3 separate regions of the Homo sapiens genome follow, and all the other regions are linked to region 3. The links are contacts of gene promoters, found by promoter capture Hi-C in blood cells and fetal thymus (Javierre and others, 2016). All regions are on one chromosome and are shown on one strand. Each heading gives the region's core, a stretch centred on a gene start or on the middle of the fragment in contact. The rest is flanking DNA. Distances are from core to core; before and after follow the strand shown.

The links. The method cuts DNA at HindIII sites, captures the fragments that hold promoters and counts their contacts. A CHiCAGO score of 5 or more calls a contact.
Region 1: a contact is called between a fragment that was not itself captured here and the fragment with the promoter of PNLDC1 in region 3, in 5 of 17 cell types (total CD4 T cells, naive CD8 T cells, total CD8 T cells and 2 more). The highest score is 9.4, in total CD4 T cells.
Region 2: a contact is called between a fragment that was not itself captured here and the fragment with the promoter of PNLDC1 in region 3, in 1 of 17 cell types (M0 macrophages). The highest score is 5.2, in M0 macrophages.

Annotation. Positions count from the first base shown.
Region 1 is chr6:160,452,848-160,456,993 of GRCh38, forward strand. No RefSeq gene overlaps it. Among named protein-coding and RNA genes, the nearest start is that of SLC22A3, 110 kb to the left of the region's middle. The HindIII fragment of the contact is 6,115 bases long and covers 1-4,146 here.
Region 2 is chr6:159,169,426-159,173,394 of GRCh38, forward strand. FNDC1 (fibronectin type III domain containing 1) reads left to right here. Exons shown (of 23, transcript NM_032532.3): 1 at 1-280. The coding sequence starts at 172. FNDC1-AS1 (FNDC1 antisense RNA 1) reads right to left here and starts at 582. Exons shown (of 4, transcript NR_121668.1): 1 at 387-582. RefSeq lists a silencer at 1-23 and an enhancer at 830-1,329. The HindIII fragment of the contact is 1,395 bases long and covers 1,034-2,428 here.
Region 3 is chr6:159,797,980-159,802,325 of GRCh38, forward strand. PNLDC1 (PARN like ribonuclease domain containing exonuclease 1) reads left to right here and starts at 2,297. Exons shown (of 19, transcript NM_001271862.2): 1 at 2,297-2,404; 2 at 2,793-2,850; 3 at 3,134-3,207. The coding sequence starts at 2,329. It overlaps MRPL18 (mitochondrial ribosomal protein L18), which reads left to right. Exons shown (of 4, transcript NM_014161.5): 4 at 73-450. The coding sequence ends at 144. The HindIII fragment of the contact is 10,328 bases long and covers 1-4,346 here.

The sequences.
Region 1 (4,146 bases), core at 974-3,473, 650 kb after region 3:
CTCCGTGTCCCCTGGGCTCAAGTCAAGCAGTCGGTGACAGATTTCATTCCCAATAACAGAATCGGTTTGCATGACTCCCCATACATGTTGCAGCTTTGAAAACATTCATCTCAGAGTTAGGTATAAAGACATAAAAATGTGTGTCAAGCCCTCGTTAGCTGATGAGGTAAATGCATGGACAACTTCCTAGGACTTCTCGGCTCTGCCCTCTGTGACCTTGCAGCCTGCTCAGGTCTTTGTGCTCTGTTCCTTATCAAAAACAGCACAACCCCCTCAATCTGCCCATTTAAAAATTGGTGGAGTGAACAAAGAGCATGAAAATGTTGAAGACCACAACCAAAATTTACTCAAATCAAAGTTAAGTACAGAGTTTATTTTTAACAAATGTCATAGCTATGTCACCTTACTACAGAATCCAGCAGTCAGAAAATAACACAAAAAATGCCGAGGTTTGGCGTAGCTGGTAGCTGGGGACAGTGTCTTCGTTTGATTACTGCCAGTTATTTCCAGCATGCTAAATCCCTACCCACGTTCCAGCCTCTAGGTGAGTCAGTGCGTCACTCTGTCTCCCGTCCAATTAATTATTTCTCATCACTCCCTCAATCCAAGTAACAAACCTTGAAACACGAACATAGACACCAGGCTTATTGGGGCGTGCACAGCCAAGACCCCAAGAAGTGACTCCTTGTAAAATGTATTTGTCCTTCTCAAAGCAAACCAGAGGCCCTCCACTGTCACCCTAAATAGAGGTAGGGAAAAATTCATGTGAGGGTTAGGCTGCCAGCCTTTTATTGTGGCATCCATCTATTGTCCATATGTATATTTTCCCAGTAATTGAAATTGGAAAGGAACTTATGGGCATATTACTGGAGCATCTGCAGTGCTTAAGTACTTAGCAAAATCTATTCAGCGAAACCACACCACTTAGTTTCTCCCAGGGGTAAAAAAAACCCTTGTGAATCCTGCACACATCCCTTCCTGTGTTGGTGTTTCCTTTAGACTGGCCTAGCCTGGGCATCACTGTAAAGTATGTGCAGTTGGTCTCTGTCCTGTACCCTCTACCTCCTTCCCTGTCGGAAAAGTCACCACTTTAGTCCCTGGCCACCAGCACACCCCAGGAGGGTGAGTGGCCTGAGGTAGTTACGGCACTTAAAACTCCCTTGCTACCGATCTGGAACTCAAGCCCCAAGACATCCCCTTAGATGATCTGAATACGCATTCAGGGACAGATCTAGGCAGTTTCTAAACAACACTTAGACTGGGGTCTAACGTTGACAAATCCTTCTAGAATTTGCCTCTTTGGGACTGAAGTCTAAGGGGCTGAGACCAAGAAGGGAGAGCACAAGACTAACTTTGGTCTCTTGACCTTTTCTTACCTTGCAACTGTCAGTGCCTCCAGCCAAATGCCTAGCACAGAGCTCAGTGGATTTGATTCTTCCATTCAGATACTCATAGCGATTGCACACTTTATTCTCAATCACAAGAAGCTGGGGCTTCCTTGAGAAGGCCAGCCCCAAAGGTACCTGTGTTTAAAAGATGAAAGAAATGGTTGCTGAACCCAAAACATGTTTAGGAGGAAAACCAGAAGAACAGAGCAGTGGCACTGGACCTCCTGTCTGTCCGTGAGGCTGCAGAACACAAGGCAGCTCCCAATGCCGCTGGACTCTCTGACCTTGGAGAGTGTAAACATCATATATGATTCTGTGTTCCTGAGATCTGGGTTTAACGATCTGGGCTTTGTCATGGTGTTTTACGTTCGTTGTTGTTTGTGTACTTTTTGCTTTTCTTTTGAAAGTATGAAAATGATTTTTACAATGTAAAGAGAGTCTGAGAAATGCAATTGCTATTCTTTTTATATACTTTTTCAGATTTTTTATATGCTTCTTTACTACTTACATCATAATGCACAATTTTATATACTGATTTTTTCAATCAATGTATATCATGAGTTTTTAAAATAATGCTACAATCTTCATAACTAATATTTTAATGGGGAGTGACTGCTTAATTGGCATGAGGTTTCCTTTTGAGATGAGGAAAATGTTCTGAAAATATGGTGATGGTTGCACACCATTGTGAATGTACTGAATGCCATTCAGTGGTACCCTGCAAAATAATTAAAATCCTAACTCTTATGTTGTGTATATTTTATTGCAATAAAAAGAATAGTCGTCATTTACTAAGAATTAACCTTTTCAGGCACAAGCTCTTAATGTGGTGTATCTCACTTCATCCTCACAACCGTCCTATGAAACAGGCACTTTTATCATTCCTGTTCTACAGCTGAGGAAACTGAGGTGTAAGGAGGTTGTGTAGTTCAGCTTGAGCCTGGGTCTGCGGAGTCACTGCCCAAATGCTTCCTCCCCGTGCACACTGGCCCCACTCTTGCTTCCAATCTTCCACATGTTTGTTCATAAAGTTCATTCTCGTTTCTTTTCTGAAGTCTAAGTTCCCATAATTATGTTGACATATTTCCATCTCGCGGTAACACTCCCAAATTATTTTCTAAAAGTGTGTGACAGTATAAAATGTTACTGGAAACAATTCTCCTCACCCTTGTGAGTATTCAATTTTTAAAAGATTAGCTAACATAGTAGGTGGAAATTGTCCTGATTCATTTTCTGATTTACACTTCCTTGACAATTAGGGAGAAGAAATACAACTAGGGACAATTCTCCTAGTTGTAGTTTTTCTTTTGTGAAAAACTGCTTTATTTCCTTTGCCAAATTGAAACAGAACATCTGCTAAACTGCCAGAGGGAATGCTGTTTTTCCAGATGGACACGCCAAGGATGTCTCAGTGCTCTCACAAATAATCGTTTTCCAATTTTGCAAGCCCAGCTTTGATTAGAATTTCTCAAAATATTTTGCTTTGCGAGCATGACACAGGCAAAAGCTGAGGCACTCTTTCTTTCTTCCCCCAAAGTGTTGGACTGCACTTAGATCATTGTCTCAGGTTCAGAAAACTGACACTGAATCTGGAGTTTACATGAGCAGCGTAGAAGAGGCTCTTCCCAGAGCCTGGCTCCAGAGCCCAGCTCAGCCCTAGCCGGGAAGGAGCTGCATGGAGGAAGCTCCTCCTGGCTACCAAGCATCGGGCAGGGGGTGCATGACGTGGACTGTGTAGATGGGTGAGGGAGCACCCTTTTCAAAATATTTTGCTGAAAATTAAGTTAGATATCACTGCTCTCAGATCTGCTCTCAGAGCAAGGCAAACATCCTGATCAGGAGGTAAACCCACCACTAGTTGCCAGGAAATTGACGCGGTCTGTGAGTATGTGCTGCCATCCAGTGGCCAATGTAGAGATGGCACCTCTGAGGGCGGGGGGCCACGGGTGACCTTGAGGATTGAAGCCCTCCCTGATTGGGTCCTGGGGAGAGGGCCACAAGATTAGCCCAGTGATTGTGGATGGGGCTGACACGGAAGAGCCCCTTGGCCTCAACACCTACTCTGCATTTGGAATATCCAAGTCAAGGAAGGTCTGGAAACATGAAGGGGAGAGGGGGAGAATTTCGACCTCCCTCTGAGAAGCTGAGAACACCCATTGATCTGATGTCATCAACATATAGAAAATCGATAAACAGATCTGAGTTATGTTTTGTGACTCCTCCTGGTCTAGTTAGTGTTCTGAGAATCATTTTCTCAGTGGACATGTGGGTGAGACCAGAGGAGACAGGGAGCCAGTGCAGGATGGTGGTTAGAAATGTGCAGAAGGGGGTGGGAGAGAGGACACAGCGAGTGGGCTCTGGGGTCAAGGCCCGGTTACACGCCGGTTATGTGATGTTTATTTATGATGATAGTGGTGATAGTGATGGTGATAGTAGTGATAATAGTGATGATGGTGGTGGTGATGATGGTTGTGGTAATGATAATGGTGATGGTGGTGGTGATGGTGATGATGGTGGTGGTAGTGATAATGGCAATGGTGGTGATGGTGATGGTGGTGATGGCGGTGGTAGTGGTAGTAATGATGATGATGGCGGTGGTGATGGTGATGATGGTGATGGTGGTGGAATGGTGGTGATGGTAATGGTAGTAATGATGATGACGGTGGTGGTGATGATGTTGATGGGGAGGATGATGATAAGTGGTGGACGGGGATGACGGCGATGATTAATAACCCTAATCCTCACAATGACCTTATAT
Region 2 (3,969 bases), core at 481-2,980, 630 kb before region 3:
CGGCCGGGAGCGATCGCCGCGGGGCAGGGGCGCGGCGGGCACCGCGCAGAGCGCGCAGAACAGACGGACGGCGGCGGGGACCCGACGGCGGCGCCTCGGCACTCCCCAGACTCCGGCCAGCGCCCCCCTGCCAGCCGCAAGCACCCAGCCCCGGCCCACCCCGGGCTCTCGATGGCCCCCGAGGCCGGGGCGACCCTGCGCGCGCCGCGCCGGCTGTCCTGGGCGGCGCTGCTGCTCTTGGCCGCGCTGCTCCCCGTCGCCTCCTCGGCGGCGGCCTCAGGTACGCGCCGCGCCCGGGCCCCCGGCGCTCCTCAGCTCCCCGCGCACCCTCCTGCGCTCGGGCCCCGTCGTCCCGCTCAGTGCTGGCTACGGGTCGTGTCACTAGCCTGTGCGTCCTCGTCACTCGCGGGTCGGGGCACTTGGCGCCCTGTGTGGGTGGCGGGAGCGGGGACGCCTCGGTGCCCGGGGACCGCAGCGCGCTGGCGTTTAACTTTGCCGTCGCCCGCCTTGGAGTCGGGAGGCTCCAGCCGTCTAAGTGTCCCGGGAGATTCAGGCACAGCGGGGAAAAAAGGAAAAGAAAGGCGACTTTCAGCGTGCGGACTGGGGTAATGCCTTTCTTTGCCCAGAATTTCTCGGGAGCGTAGGTGGTCATCCTACTTTCTCCGCGTTCACCTCTCGCGAGGCAGGATGACGGGCGCACTCGGGAGACCGGAGGGAGGCAGAGCAGGGCTGTTCTAGAAGGTCGTGGGGGAAAGGCTGCGAGCTGCCGCAGGGCGTCGGGTGCCTCTGCGCTCCAGAGGAGAAGCGCTCCAGTGCCAGCTCGGCTCCAGGCGGCAGGAGGCCCGCGCGCCCGGGGGGAACGTTCAAGCTGGGAGAAAATGTTTGTCTTGAGAGGAGGGAGAGGGAAATGAGAAAGCTGATTCCAGAGAAACTCGCCCTTCCCCAATGGCTGAGGCTGCAGCCAGGATGGATGCTTCCTTTGAGAGCAATGCTTTTCAGAAAATGCTAGCGCGCTCCTGTCAGATTTCTTGCAAGCTTCCTGCAGAGAGAGACAAGTTTGTGGCGAGGTTTTCATTCCTAAGCCTTTGGCGGCCCTTGTTACCACCTCCTTTGCAGGCATTTTTACACTTGAAACTGGCTTTTAGGTTATTGGTTTGTAGAAATCCAAGAAGCAGACAATGATCGTCAGATACTATTCCAACGAGGGTACCAGTTTTATGATGCTATTTAGTGTATATATTGTTCTCTTACTTCAGGGGTAAAGGAAGAAAAGTTGGGGATCACATTACTTTGTGACTTTTTGGTAGATACATCATCCCAATGCTTGGCTCAGGTTTATGCGAGGTATTCTGATGCCAATGCCACTTTCTCATAAAAGGCAGTGCCTGCCGTAGGGTCTTTTTCTTCCCATTAGTGAACTCTAGGAAAGTATTCACTGAATACTTTGCACAGTACTTGAGAGGAATAAAACTAAATAAAGTCTTCCAACTTCCCCACCTACAACTCCTGGCTTTTGTTTTTCTAAGTGAAAATTTTCAGAGTGCTGGAAGAGTTTTTGTTTCTGAAAATGATCTGAAACTGGAACCAGTGCTGCCCTGGCTTTGTGGCGATTCCAGCCTTCTGCTTTTCCGATTCCTCTGCCACCTGCCCGTGGGTTGCATGTGAGTGGGTCCGAGCGGGGTTGTTTGTGAGAGCTCCTGGAATCCCACCGCGATCTGCACTCTTGCTTTTTCGCCTTCTGCTCTGTGAATCACTGTGCTGAGGAATGCTGGGGCTGGACAGCTTCCCAGCCCTTCTCTCTACTGTGTTGACGTGGGATCTACAGTCAAATGATGACCAGACTAGAGGTGGACAAAGGAGGACAGGCACATTTCAGAATGAAATCTACTAAATTTAAATTAAGTAATAGAAGGATAGAAACAGACATAGCAACCTGTAGATAGCTCCCCATGCTGTGGATGAAATTATGGGGTACATAACTTCTTTCATGGGCTCCCTTTGACAGCAACGTCATGGATAGACTGCTCCCTCTCTCTGGTTGAACTAATGCATGGACCAAGCGAGCTGCTTGTGTCAAGCTCTCCCCTTCACCACCCTTTTGGGGCCAGAATCTCTGTAAGGAAATTACCCACGGCCACATAATAGTGGCTCCGAGGGACTTTGCTTAAAGCAGGACACACTGAAGATCTGGATAAGCCCTTCAGTGTAGGGTCAATTAAACATAAAACAAAATAAGCAAGCAGTGTCCCCTCCTCCACTCATATTCATCCCTACAATAGGATACTATGCAAACATTAAAATTATGATGGCCTTGCCAGTCTGGTATGATACATTTTTCTAAACACATGTGGATGTACTCACACATGCACATATTTGCAGTGGGTATCTTAGGATGGTTAGGGATGATTTTTATTTTCTTCTTTAAAGAAGCTTTTAGGGAATTTTCCATGTCAAAACTATTTTCAAAGTAATACTAAGATTACTAAGATGCTATTTTCCTTTTTCACAGTTGACATTTGCACTGAGGGTGCAAAAGCTTGATGGGTAAACTGCGGGTGTCTTACTGAGAATCAAGGCAGGGACATCACCATGCACTAGTAGTCTTTGAATTTTGGGGGGACTTTGCAGTTAAAAAAAATTTGCCAGTTTCATTAAGAATGTTCTTGATGCCACAGTAAAATTATTAATTTTACCAAATCTTTGTATCTTTGAGTGTATGTCTTTTTAATAGTGTAAATAAATGGGAAGGACACATAAGTTACTACTGCTGATGACCAAGTTCAGTGGCAACCCCAGGGGGAAGCACTGGTGTGATTGTTTGTGTTATGCATTAAGCTAGCTGGTTTTTTAAAATGGAATGTGGTATTTACCACAAAGAATGACAACAGACAAACTAGAGCTATTCTGACTTGGGTATTTGGCCGATGTTTTCTCAAAAATGAACAAAGGGAACTTGCTACTTCTAGTAAAATAACTGCTATTATTGCTTGCCAATGATAACATTTCAGCTTTCAAGTGAAAATCAGAATTTTGCCAAGTTGTTTCCACCACTGTAAGCTTGAAAGTTTCCCAATATTTAAATTTTTTTCTAGTGAGATCAATGGTGATATAAATGAATGTGATTTGTAAATGTCATCTCATAAAATGTGTCAACATTTGGATGATCTGCATAACCAAATAAACCAATAGATCCAAATGACCAGTGTATAGCCTTACAACAATCTTGCATGGGTAAAAGGTCTGTTCAAAGTGCATGATAGCCCAATGGATTTTTAATGTAACAAAATATGAAAAATTCTTCATATGATTTCAGATTCTAAGAATTGGCTACTTGATGAATTTTGGTGTAATATCAAAGATTTTTCAAAATTATCCAAAAAGGCTATTGAAATAGTTGTCCAGCTACACATCTGTGTGAGGCTGGGTTTTCTCCAAGCAAAACGACATATTGCAATAGATTGAATGCATAAGCAGATCGGAGATATTCTATTAAAAAGATTTGCCAAAATGTAGAAACAAAGCTGCTCTTCTCACTCATTTCTCTTTGTTTTGGGAAACAGTTACTTTTCATATAAATATATTTGTATGTCAACATGTAATGGTTTATTATTGTTTTTTAAAATAAATAAGTACATATTTTCGTTTTAATTCCCAGTAAAGTCAATAAGGATAGATAAAACTCACAGAAACATAACCTCCTTGGCATCCTCGTAAATTTAAGAATAGAAGATAATTCAGACACCAAAATGTTTGAGACACACTGGTATATACGGAGGGAAGTAGGTTAAAAATCAGGATGCCTGGGTGTGAGTGGCAGTGCTGTCCTGCACCTCTGGGGGCCTTGGGCTAGTCTCCGCGCTTCAGAATAGGTCAATTGAAGGAGGCTCCTTCCATCTCTGGAAGCCTTTAGAAGCTCGCCTGTGGCTCAACCTGCATGTGGCTTTATGGGGTTTCCCTGTTACTTCAGTC
Region 3 (4,346 bases), core at 1,047-3,546:
GGTGAAAGTATTTTCAGCCTACTCGTGCTGCTGACTTAATCTTTTCCTTTTTTTTCTGATTTTCAAAACCAGATGAAACGACTACAAAGTGCCATGACAGAAGGTGGTGTGGTTCTACGGGAACCTCAGAGAATCTATGAATAAATGGAAGCATTAATTGTTTTGAACATGTAAATATAAATCTGTCAGCCACTACAGCCATCAAAAGAGAGCATCTGGAAGAACAGCCAGCTTGGAAGTTTTACAGCAATAATGTTGCAGTGGAATATTATTTGTAGTTAAGGTCATCCTCCTCCCCTTTCTGTTTTTTTAAATCAAGAACTACGTTCTGCCCCTCTCTTGGGCTTCAGAAGCATCTAAGAAAAGCAGTCATCAATTATAATTAACTTTCAAAGGGCAAGTCAGAAGTTGTTTATAAATTACAAAATAAAGGCATATTATGAACTCTTATTTTCTGGTTATATGACATTGTCTGAGCTCACTGTGGCAGTGGAGCACATATGAGGTTGATGTAAAGCACTTATTACTGTGTCTAGTTCATGGCGAGTGATCTCAGTGAATGACAGTTGTTTGCTGCTCGGAGTGTGGGTTGTTTTTTAAAATAGGAAATGTCAGTATCAATCTAATACTATAGAACAGTCAGTATGTGAAAATGAAAGGACCAAATGCCAACCTCACTTGGACTCTTGGTTCCCAACAGTAAGAGAAACAAATTTGAAAGAGGAAGGAGGTGGCATCAGGAGCTGAAAGCAGAGGTGGAAATGGTTGGGGTTAGTGGGCGCTCAATTTGCCATGAAGTGAACATTTTATTAGATAGGAGATGAAACTTGAAATGCATGCAAGTTAATCTAAAATTTGAGCTTGGGTAGATGGGAATCATGGCAGTTCTCTGAAAGGAGCTGATTAAGGTGTTAATTTTTGGCTATTTGATAAATGTGAGAAAAAACCTGTAGGCAGTTAAGGTGGCTTCTAGAGCATTGTTTTCCAGTTTTTTTAATGTATACCCCAATTAAATGTTTGTTTAGAAGTGAAATATGTTACTTCTGCCAATTTGAGTATTCAATGTGTTATTTTAAATGGAACACATCTGTATGAAGTATGATTTGTTCTGAGAGGTCTTCAGAATCAAATGGCTTAATAGTCCCCTTTTGCTTAATTAATGTCCCGGAGAGGCATTTAAAAGTATAATTGAAGATCGGATGCAGTGCCTCACACCTCTAATCCCACCACTTTAGGAGGCTGAAGCAGGTGGATCACTTGAGGCCAGGAATTCGAGACCAGCCTGGCCAATACGGTTTAACCCTATCTCTACTAAAAACAAAAATGAGTTGGGCGTGGTGGTGCATGCCTGTAATCCCAGCTGTTCAGAGGCTGAGGCGGGAGAATCGCTTGAACTCAGGAGGTGGAGATTGCAGAGAGCCGAGATGGCACCACTGCACTCCAGCCTGGGTGACAGAGTGAGACTGTCTCAAAAGGAAAAAATAAAGTATAACGGTAATGTTTTCTCCGCTAACCTTAAAGATTGATTTGAGCACCTCACTTTGAGGACCATAGTTCCAAAACGCTGTTCAAGTAGAAGCCTAGAATTCAAGGGAGGACACTGTAAGGAAGACCATGGACTAGTTGCACTGGAAACAGTAACAAAAGTAAAAATTAAGCTCACATGTATGTGATGATGTAGGTAGGGATTTCCGCAAGGAGTGAGTGCACGAGATAATCCCTGGGGACCAAGGATTCCTTCAATTTAATGGGCAGTTCTTGAGGCTTTGCAAAGTTTGATTGCAGGTGTGAAGACAGTGGTAAGGTGGACAGCAGAATGAGGAAAAAGATGTCCAGGGGCGTGGGAGAGGGAATGGGGACAGACATACTGGCAGTGATGGAGAAGTTGGGAAGAGGTGATTTAGAAGACCGTGAGCCGCAGCAAAGGATCTGCTTATTGCAGTTGCGTCCGGTGTTGTTCCTGCTCCGCTTTTCTGATTTCACCCTTTCTGGACTCTGTCTTCGTCTCCTGCCACGCCTCTTAACATTCTAAGTCCATGTAAATGACATTCTCACGTTAAGGGCTGCAAAGAAATTGCTGAGGAGCCAGGTAAACAGGCTTTGATTGCAATTGCAATCAAACCTCTGTAGCAAATCGTACAATTAAAACACCCGCAGGCAGGTGTGGGCGACGCCAGCAGCACACGGGGAAGCTGGGCACGTGGGGCGGAGGCAGCTGCCTGGTTTCCATGTGTGCGCCCTTTAAGACCCGGCGGCGCGACGGAAGCGCGTGGGCAGCACGTGGGCAGCACGTGATAGCGCTGGGCGACTCCGCGGAGCTGCACGGCCATGGACGTGGGCGCCGACGAGTTCGAGGAGAGCCTCCCTCTGCTGCAGGAGCTCGTCCAGGAGGCCGACTTCGTGGGTGAAGAGCCTGGGATTCGCGGCTGTGCCGGACAGAGCCCCTTGCCCCGGGCGAGCTTGAGGAGGGGGTGGCGGGACGGTTGCCAGGCCACAGGGCCTCAGAGAGGGCCTCGGGAAGGACAGGGGGGCTTCCTTCTCCAGCCCCGGGGCGGTGGGACTTTGAGCAGCAAGTACACTCCGAGCCCCACGTCCCTTGTTGGCCAGAGCCCCGTGCGCCCAGGTGCCTGGCTGCTCCTTGCCTTGGTTCCTCCATTTTCCCTTCCTGACCTCACTTGGCTTCTTGAGCGCAGAGGTGAGCGCGGGTGCCTTGGCCGCCTGCAGATCTACAGTGTGAGGAGTGCTGGCGATGTTCTGCACCCGAGGACTGCTATTTTTTGCCTTCCTGGCAGGTCTGGACATAGAGTTCACGGGCCTTCGTTCTAACCTGTCTGGGCCCCAGCAGATCAGGTAAAACTAAAGCTGTGTCCCCTCTGTATAAGAGCCTGGCCAGACCAGCACTGTTTCTGGCCAGCAGCCTGTTGGCATTTGGGGGGCAGGACGTTTTGTGTGGCTTGCTCCTACGTGTTGGAGGACCTTGCTTTTTTCTGTCCACTAAATGATGGTAGTGCTCCCTAGTTGTTGTAACAAGGAAAAAATCCTCCCCGGTTGCGAGTGGTGGTCCTGCCGCGGAGGCCATAGTGCCGGGATGGGATGTCATTGCTCGTGGAATGAGATGCCTGTTTGTTCACAGTCTTTTTGATTTGCCATCGGAGTGGTATCTAAAGACCCGTCAGAGTGTTCAGCAATTTACAGTCTGTCAGATTGGTGAGTTTAATATCAGCTGTTAGAGTTTTTCAAGAAGGTATTTTTATTGTCCTTGGATTTCCTACTGTAAAAACAGCTCTGAGATTTTTCAAGGATATTGAGTATCGTTTTGTATGCTTGTTTTGTGTTGGGCCATTGTATACATATGGAAATCAACACTTCGGAGCAAACCAAATTTAGCAGCATTGTTTCCGTGCTTAAATAAGTCAGTATTAAGGAACACTCACTGTTACTCTTTCAAGTAAAACTGTGTGTGTGCGATTTTTATTTTATTTTTTGAGACAGGGTCTTGCTCTGTCACCAAGACTGGAGTGCAGTAGCATAGTCTTAGCTCACTGCAGCCTAGACTTCCTGGGCTCAAGTGATACTAGCACGTCAGCCTCCTGAGTAAACTGGGACTACAGGCTCACCACCACACCTAGCTAATTTTTAAATTTTTTGTTCAGATGGGTTTTCGTCATGTTGGCCAGGCTGTTCTTGACTTCCTGGGCTCGAGCAATCTTTCTGCCTCTGCCTCTCAAAGTGATGGAATTATAAGCGTGAGCAACCACACCTGGCCTGTGATTTTTTTTTCTTAAGAAAATTTACACACAAAAATAATTTTTTTTAAGGTCATCTCAGTTTCAGAAACTTTTTTTTTTTCCTTGATGGGATTTGGAGATCTTTCTGTATCGGTTCATACAGATCTATTTGTTGATTTAGTTATTAGTTTATTTTCTGAGATGGAGTCTCGCTCTGTTGCCCAGGCTGGAGTGCAGTAGCGCGATGTGGGCTCACCGCAACCTCCACCACCCAGGTTCGGGTGATTCTCCTGCCTCAGCCTCCAGAGCAGCTGGGATTACAGGCAATTGCCACCAGGCCTGGCTAATTTTTGTATTTTTAGTAGCGATGGGGTTTCACCATGTTGGCCAGGCTGGTCAAGACAGAGCTGTTAACGGTTGCGTAATGCTGTTTCTTTTACAGCTACTCAATCCTGCTTTTGTAATGTGAAATTAGCTGTAGAGAATACATGAACAAATGAGCATGGCTCCATTCCAGTAAAATGTTATTGTATTTACAGAAACAGACCCTGGGCCAGATTTTACTTTTCTGGGTTTGTCTGTGCCCTCTCCCGCACCATTGGGTTTTTGCTGTGTTGC